Linked DNA regions of Homo sapiens: regions 1 and 3 are each linked to region 2. The links are contacts of gene promoters, found by promoter capture Hi-C in blood cells and fetal thymus (Javierre and others, 2016). All regions are on one chromosome and are shown on one strand. The core of a region is centred on a gene start or on the middle of the fragment in contact, and the rest is flanking DNA. Distances in the headings are between cores, read along the strand shown. Region 1 overlaps KEL (Kell metallo-endopeptidase (Kell blood group)). Region 2 holds the start of TAS2R40 (taste 2 receptor member 40). Region 3 holds the start of LOC105375547 (a long non-coding RNA gene).

What was found. Contacts are between HindIII fragments. The CHiCAGO score rates a contact against its expected background, and 5 or more counts as called.
Region 1: a fragment that was not itself captured here is called in contact with the fragment with the promoter of TAS2R40 in region 2 in 4 of 17 cell types (M1 macrophages, M0 macrophages, naive B cells and 1 more); the score reaches 6.8 in M1 macrophages.
Region 3: a contact is called between a fragment that was not itself captured here and the fragment with the promoter of TAS2R40 in region 2, in 2 of 17 cell types (M0 macrophages and M1 macrophages). The highest score is 6.1, in M0 macrophages.

What each region holds. Positions count from the first base shown.
Region 1 is chr7:142,956,398-142,959,097 of GRCh38, forward strand. It overlaps KEL (Kell metallo-endopeptidase (Kell blood group)), which reads right to left. Exons shown (of 19, transcript NM_000420.3): 5 at 1,907-2,031; 6 at 1,430-1,576. Among named protein-coding and RNA genes, the nearest start is that of KEL, 4.6 kb to the right of the region's middle. RefSeq lists an enhancer at 1,381-2,096. The HindIII fragment of the contact is 585 bases long and covers 990-1,574 here.
Region 2 is chr7:143,220,767-143,223,466 of GRCh38, forward strand. It overlaps TAS2R40 (taste 2 receptor member 40), which reads left to right and starts at 1,271. Exons shown (of 1, transcript NM_176882.2): 1 at 1,271-2,313. The coding sequence starts at 1,313. The coding sequence ends at 2,284. The HindIII fragment of the contact is 3,585 bases long and covers 1-1,774 here.
Region 3 is chr7:143,491,970-143,494,669 of GRCh38, forward strand. The region is part of intron 2 of EPHA1-AS1 (EPHA1 antisense RNA 1); the gene reads left to right. LOC105375547 (a long non-coding RNA gene) reads left to right here and starts at 1,008. Exons shown (of 2, transcript XR_928075.3): 1 at 1,008-2,700. RefSeq lists a silencer at 7-301. The HindIII fragment of the contact is 2,379 bases long and covers 214-2,592 here.

The sequences.
Region 1 (2,700 bases), core at 32-2,531, 260 kb before region 2:
TATGCACAATTGTCATAAGAGTTGGATGGCCTCAGTAGCTCTTTTTTTTTTTTCTATTATGTCAAATGTTTCACCTTCGCCTGGCTTCTTAGAAATAATCAGGCTCAACCTTATGTCTTCAGTCTCACTTTTACCTCCCACTGCACCCCACCTTGCCTCCCAAATCCTCAATTAAATAGATCAGCCTCCTCACTGACTCCACGAAGGAATCACACCATTCCAGGTCCTCCCCCTGGCTCAGCATTTCCAACGCCCCATAGCTTCACCTCCACTTGTGTGAATTAACCATGTTTCAAGGCTGGCTTAGCTCACCTTCTCTCATTCTCTCCTCTCTGAGCCTCTCCTTAACCAGATCTTAACCGGCCCCTAAAGGCCACATCAGTTAAACTCCTGAGCAGACTGTTTAAAACTAAATTTTAGAACACCTCATAATGATAATCAATTCTTCTTTTGTACTTATCCTTTGGTAATTTTGTGGCTCTTTTGACAGTAGGGCCCAAATATGCAGATAGCATTACATTGTTTAACCACAAGAGTGATAGCTCCAGTGTTTTTATTTAGTTACTCACTCACTACAAATACCTGGCAAAACTTCTAGCTGCCTGGCCCTGTGATAGGTCCTGAGAAACAAAGGTGAATAAAGCATGGTCCTGTTCTAAAGAGGCTCACAATCTTCAACACAGAGTGATAAATGCTGAGAGCATGAGGAAACGAAAGTAGGGAGAGCAGGGCTTCACCTAACTCATAACTAGGGTGTCGGTGAAGACTTCCTGGAAGAGATAATAAAGCCAACATTTGAAAAACATGTAAGTTTTCCAGGTTCAGTGTGGGGGATGGTTGCAGGCACAGGGAGCAGCATAGGCAAAGAACTGAGGAATATTCCTGGAAGCAGCAGTGAGTCAGCATGGCTTGGGGGTAAGGGAGAGAAGGAATGTACGGGAGATAAGGCTGGAGAAGTGTGTAGGGGTCAGATCACAAGGTGCTTGCAAAGCTTTACTAAAGATTAGGGACTAGATTCTGATGACCTGGCAAGCCACTGGGTCACTGACAAGCATTTAAATACAGACAGTAGCATAGTTAGTTAGCCCTTGGTTTAGAAAAGTTCCCTCTAGTAAAAATAAAGAGTAAATAAAATGAGGGCAATCCTAGAGATAGGAGGACTGGTTAAGGGGCTCTGAGACTAATCCAGATTAACAGTAAGAAAGACCAGGCCTACTTCTGTCTTCCCAGCACTGGCTCTGCTGCTCCATTTCCCACCCCCAGCTAATGTCCCTGACTTTCACATCAATAATTTTCCCTTAAGGTAGGGTTGTTTCCTATATCACACAGGTGTCCTCTCTTCCCAACCTGCAACCTTCCTCTAAGGGATGATTGGCTAGAGTTGGAGGCAGGCCAGGTCCAACTGTGTCTTCGCCAGTGCATCCCTCACCTGGATGACTGGTGTGTGTGGAGAGGCAGGATGAGGTCCTAGGTAGGCTCTGAAGAAAGGGAAATGGCCATACTGACTCATCAGAAGTCTCAGCGTTCGGTTAAAGTTTAAGGAAGTCCATTTACCAGAGATGCGCCAGCCTCCAAGCTTTAAAGGAGAGAGAGGGGGCTGAGCATAAGGATCCGTGGAGCCCATCCCCCATTGTCTGGATCGGCTCTTACACAGCTGCTACTGCCTGACCTCTGCCCTGCGCCCTTCGATTCCTCTAGGAAGCCACATCTATCCTTTTTTATCTGCCTTCTCCCAAGGTCCTGATACTTTCATAGGGCATAACCATTTCCATCTCCATCTCCCTCCTAGAAATTGGGGGGCCCTAGGAAGAAGACCCACCCTCTAGAAAAAAAAATGGCAGCCCTAAGCATGCATTGGTCCCATATGTTATGTATCCAGAAAAGTTAATATCCCAACTTTTCTCACCTCCTCAATAACTTGTCTGAGGGGACCAGTCCCTGCAGCTTCAATGGCAAGTGTATCCATGCAGGAGTTGTAGAACTGGAAGGCTTTCTCCTCCCCAGAGCCTGGGTGCCAGGAATTCTGGACCTCTAGAAAGGAAGCATGGGAGTGAGGACTAAACTCTGATTTTTTTTATCTTGCCCCAAATTCCTATCAAAGGGGTCTGGGGAGTCATGCCCTATATCATAAGTTCTCATCAGATGGGTTTTATTTAACCCATGTAACATGATTTACTTTCTAACCTGATTCTGGCATAACATTACGAGACAAAGAAGAAAACAAAAATATTTTACCCCAAAACATGTTTCTTTGCCACATTTTGAAATGGCCCTGCAAAGCTGTTCTTTGTGGAGGAAAATTTGCATCTGTAAAGCATCTCTATTAGCTATTAACATATCTCATTAACATAGCTAGATCTTTTGATTAACTAAGATCTGAATAGGAAACATTTGTCACCTATTGTCTCTAAGGGCAGCCACTATAAGACTTCAAAAGAACTTCGGTCTCCGCAATCTTTATCTTACCCTGAACATTCCCTTTCTATCTATCCCAGATCTTTAGACAAACTCAAGCAACTGTCAATCCGGAAATGTTTAAATTCACCTGTACCCTGGAAGCCACCCCCACCCCTTTGAGTTGTTCCACCTTTCTGGACCAAACCAATGTATTTCTTAAATGTATTTGATTGATGTCTCATGACTCTCTAAAATGTATAAAACCAAGCTGTGCCCCAGCCACCTTGGGCACATGTTCTCAGG
Region 2 (2,700 bases), core at 21-2,520:
AACTGGCACTCAGCTTCTGTGTCAAGAAGACACTAGGAATTAGTATTGTCAACAAACTGAAAAGTATATACCTTGTTTAAAATGGGCAGCCATTACTCAGCTTCAGCCAGTTCACTATGAAGACCCAATACTGCCAAATCTTCTAATTTTTCAAGAGAAGATAGATTTTTTGTGCATGCATATAAGTAATCTCCTAAGTTTAAATGTTTGCCAATAGAACCCCTCAAAAAGAAAAGTTACACACTGGTGGATTAATGCTGTACAGCATTAACCAATGCAAGGTAAAATGACTACAGGCCAAATCTGACCCAAGGCTCATTGGTTTCCAGCTAAGATTTTGGATCTCAATCCTGACTATGAGCAACAAGACCTTTCGGCTTTTTTAAAAGATAGCATGCCTGAGCCCTAGTCCAGTTCTGATTTCCTAGATTTGGACGAGTCCTGGGCATCTACATATTCTTGTAAAGTGCCAGAGTTCATTCTGGTTCACAGCCAGGGTTAAAAAGTAGGAAATTAAATTTCAAGTCATAGTACCTTATCACATTTCCAAACTTCAACACCATGTCCAGAACACTGAATTCTCCCCAGGCTCATTCTACCTGATTCTGAGCTCAAATAGTCATGTGGGATCTCAGTAAGCTGAAATTGATGACACATACACAAACAATAAAAACTGGGACTATGGAGACTTCCTTCTCTCCAACTCGAATAGCATCCAATTTTGGCTTTTCTATATACTATTCGAGGACATTATAATAGCAGGCCTTTTTGGAAGAAACTCAATTCTAAGTAAAAGATGTTCATATATGAGCTTATGGGAATTTCTTATTCACAAACATGGTAACTATCAAAATAAAACTCTCTCCCAAAATAAGAGAGACAAGAAAAGAAGTGGGGAAAACAGATTTTAAAAGCTGTATGAGCTTTTACAAATAATTTAGCAGGTAACAGAGATCTTGTGAGACAAGTAAAAAGGCCTTGTATTCATTGCTTATCAGGTAAATGTGGACTTAAAGTAAATAAGGTAAGAAGGTGTTGAGCTAGAAACATGTCTCAAATTATTTCCAGTGAGCTTCTGAAAGCCCAAGACAAATGTATCTTTATGAAAAATTGAGACAGACCCAGTAACCAGATCCTCTCATTATTTGCATGTGAAGCCTCTAACTTGTAGTCATGTGATAAACAAATGGAGAAAAATTGGAAATAACCATTAATGAGGGCGGCAGAAATTATAACATTGAGCAAGGGTCAGAAGATTGCAGAGCAGTTACCCATTCTTGGCGCAGAAACCTGAAAGTCAGGATCAAAGAGAATGGCAACGGTGAACACAGATGCCACAGATAAAGACATATCCAAGTTCAAGGTCACCTTCACTTTGGTGGTCTCCGGAATAGAGTGCATCACTGGCATCCTTGGGAGTGGCTTCATCACGGCCATCTATGGGGCTGAGTGGGCCAGGGGCAAAACACTCCCCACTGGTGACCGCATTATGTTGATGCTGAGCTTTTCCAGGCTCTTGCTACAGATTTGGATGATGCTGGAGAACATTTTCAGTCTGCTATTCCGAATTGTTTATAACCAAAACTCAGTGTATATCCTCTTCAAAGTCATCACTGTCTTTCTGAACCATTCCAATCTCTGGTTTGCTGCCTGGCTCAAAGTCTTCTATTGTCTTAGAATTGCAAACTTCAATCATCCTTTGTTCTTCCTGATGAAGAGGAAAATCATAGTGCTGATGCCTTGGCTTCTCAGGCTGTCAGTGTTGGTTTCCTTAAGCTTCAGCTTTCCTCTCTCGAGAGATGTCTTCAATGTGTATGTGAATAGCTCCATTCCTATCCCCTCCTCCAACTCCACGGAGAAGAAGTACTTCTCTGAGACCAATATGGTCAACCTGGTATTTTTCTATAACATGGGGATCTTCGTTCCTCTGATCATGTTCATCCTGGCAGCCACCCTGCTGATCCTCTCTCTCAAGAGACACACCCTACACATGGGAAGCAATGCCACAGGGTCCAGGGACCCCAGCATGAAGGCTCACATAGGGGCCATCAAAGCCACCAGCTACTTTCTCATCCTCTACATTTTCAATGCAATTGCTCTATTTCTTTCCACGTCCAACATCTTTGACACTTACAGTTCCTGGAATATTTTGTGCAAGATCATCATGGCTGCCTACCCTGCCGGCCACTCAGTACAACTGATCTTGGGCAACCCTGGGCTGAGAAGAGCCTGGAAGCGGTTTCAGCACCAAGTTCCTCTTTACCTAAAAGGGCAGACTCTGTGACTGGAACTCACGGAGTTCTGCGGGACCTGGTCCAACCACTTCTGCCTTTGCCTCAGGTAGAACTCTCTCCTCACCCGTCTCTTCTCTCCCAAACCTGCTCTGACACTTCTCAGATAACGTGATCCTTTTATAAATATGAAGCTGAATTTTTAACTTGAGATTCTAAACAGAAGTAACTAAGAAACCTGAAGATGGACTTTGAAAGCTCCTTGAACTATGTTCATTCATATCCTGCCCTGAGATCTCTCCACTTTCTTCTCCTCCTGAGCCTTAAGGAGAGGGTGGCCAGACATATCGGTTTGCCAGGGACAATCTCTGTTTATTGTCTGTTGTCAATTGAGCATCCTTTAATTCTCAAGAATATCATGGTCTGGATGAAGAATTACATGATCATCCTACTTAAGACACCCAACTAA
Region 3 (2,700 bases), core at 153-2,652, 270 kb after region 2:
TAGATGGCCTCGTTCTTAGCTTTTTGGGACAGAGAATTTTATTCCACTTTTCTCACCTTGGTAAACATGTACTGAGCACTGTTCAGCGCCTGGTCCAGTGGAAGGTATTGGGATAACAAATCAATCAGTCTGGTCTCCTGCTTAGGAACTCAGCCTGCAGGGAGAATAGAAAGAGTGAGTCATCATGACCTTATCAGGGGAGTTTTCAGAGGAAGCTTGATGAAGACATCTGGTAAGAGGAGACATAGAGTCTGGCTATGTAATCAGCTCAGCAGATCTGTAGAAATAATAAAGTAGAAACAAAAAACAAAACAAAACAAAAACAAGAAATAGTGCTCTTGCCTCTTAAAAAAGTAGATGAGGTTTAAGGTATGCTAAGATTCATATAAGGAGGCCTGGGCTTCAAGCTGTATCAGGAAACCATCTACGTATCCATTGGGTACATTGCTACATTTTAAAGCCACAGTTTCTTCATCTACAGAATGAGCAAGTTAGATTAGGTACATTAAGATTTCTTCCAGCTCTAAAGATTTGTGATAAGTGAATATACATAATCTGTGGTTTAAAGTAGTATAGAAGGGAAAAATAGATCCTTTGGTGTTTGATTGCTCTAAGCATGCATAGCTAGTGGGACTGTAGGCAATGAGATATGAATTAGTGGGTTTTGGGTTCAAAGGATTCAGATCTCACACATAGCTGATTGGGGAGGTGTCAATGAACGGGACTAATTGACTCAAAACCAGAGACTAAGGAAACGGGGAAGAGGACTACACCAGTAGAAATGGCAAAACTACTTGGGCCAAGGCTGAAAGGCTGGTAGCCTTCTGATACGTAAGCCTCCTTCCTAAGCACTGCAAAAGAAACTACCATCAGAGTGAACAGGCAACGTACAGAATGGGAGAAAGTTTTTGCAATCTACTCATCTGACAAAGGGCTAATATCCAGAATCTATAATGAACTCAAACAAATTTACAAGAAAAAAACAAACAACCCCATCAAAAAGTGGGCGAAGGATATGAACAGACACTTCTCACCATCTTCTTTATCAAGAAAAGATGAAGGTCTATGTCTATCTTTGGTTCTTATACCAATCCAAGCCCTTCTCCATTCCTTCTTATCTCCAACAGAATAGAAATGCCTCAAGGCCAAGAAAAGAGTCATCTCCCTTTTGACTTCCATTCTTTAGTTTTTAAAATGTATATCTACATATACTGAGCACTTCAGTTTATGCTGTTGATTTGGTGACTGACAAGAACTAGGACTCTATCAAGTGGCTTGAAAACACTGATTTATATCATCTAGGTCACGGGAGGAATTCAAAGAGCCTCCAACTACAACCAGTGAGAAAAACAGTGGAGGATCACAAAACAGTCCCGGGTGCTCCCAGGAATTTGGGCTTTATCCTCCTACCACCTCCTCTTAGCCTTCCTTGTGGGTGACTCACCAAGGCTGAGTGCTCACTTCATGCACAGGACATTTTGAATGTGGAGATGTACATCTCTTAGAAAGTCCTTGATACAGTTGTTCATCCTCTTCTTCGTGATGCAGGCTTTACTTTGTCAGTATTAGCTGATAACTTTTCAGAATTTAGGCATCCCCAGAGGGAAATTACTTGCTCTTGGTGTGTTTCTTACTCATTCTTCCCCACAGCTACTTCTCTGCAACCACAGCTCCCTCCTCTACTAAGTTCCCTGTGGAATACATATTCTAAAAACATTTTATTTCAACTTTTAATTGTCCTTCTAGTTCCTAGCATAATGAGCCCTTCTGTAACTCTTTTATATCTTTTACTGCCCTTCAATGCTGTGGCATCACTGAGGACTTTTAGTAGAAGTTGGGATTCAGAAACATTTACTTTTCTGACCTGGTGAGAAGGGACTGAAAGTAATTGAGATAGGAAAGAGAAACTAAAATTTTAGAACCTGGTCTCCTTCCTAAAGGAAGAAAATGAAAGCACCTTCACCCCTCCTCCCACACACCTAGTTTTAGTGACAGTGACATCTAGTTTTAGAGTGGTGAGGACACATCGCACATTAGAATCATCACATCCATGGCCTGGGAGCCATTGAGAAGTCTCAAGTTCACAGTCATTAAAATAGTTCTGCAGGTTCTTTGATGGTCTCCCACATCACATTCCTGTTGTGTTTCCTTTGCATATTTTCATATTACTAGAAGTTTTTTCTTTATCAGCTTTCCTAATACTGATCTCCCGGTTCTTGGCCATCTTCCACAAAGTTTTAATTTCTTCACTGGAATTACTAGAAGGAGCAGAGGAAACAATGGGTCAGGATGAGGTTTTATTCCCAATATTTAACTATTTATTTCTATAGTAATAGAACATGAGTCTTTGGTAAAATGGGGAGAAAAAAGAGAGACATCAGTGTGTAACCCACTAAATTTTTTTTATAACAATTGGCCAATATTGCAAGATAAAGGTTTACTTACCTGGAAGATTTGTCATTGTAATGACAATGGACTAGGGAACTGTTGTTTAACTTCATGCTCTTCCCCTTTGGGCAAGACCTGAAGAATCTTGGGTTTATCTTTGCTGCTTCCACTGCCCAGGTAAGCTCAGGACCTCACAGGGCCTGAAGCTTTCCCCACCTCAAGGTCTGTGGATGGAGAAAACTGCTAGAACTTCTGACTGAGAGTTGTAGCCAAAGGTTAAGGAGGAGAGCAGCAGTAAAAAGAAAACCAAGG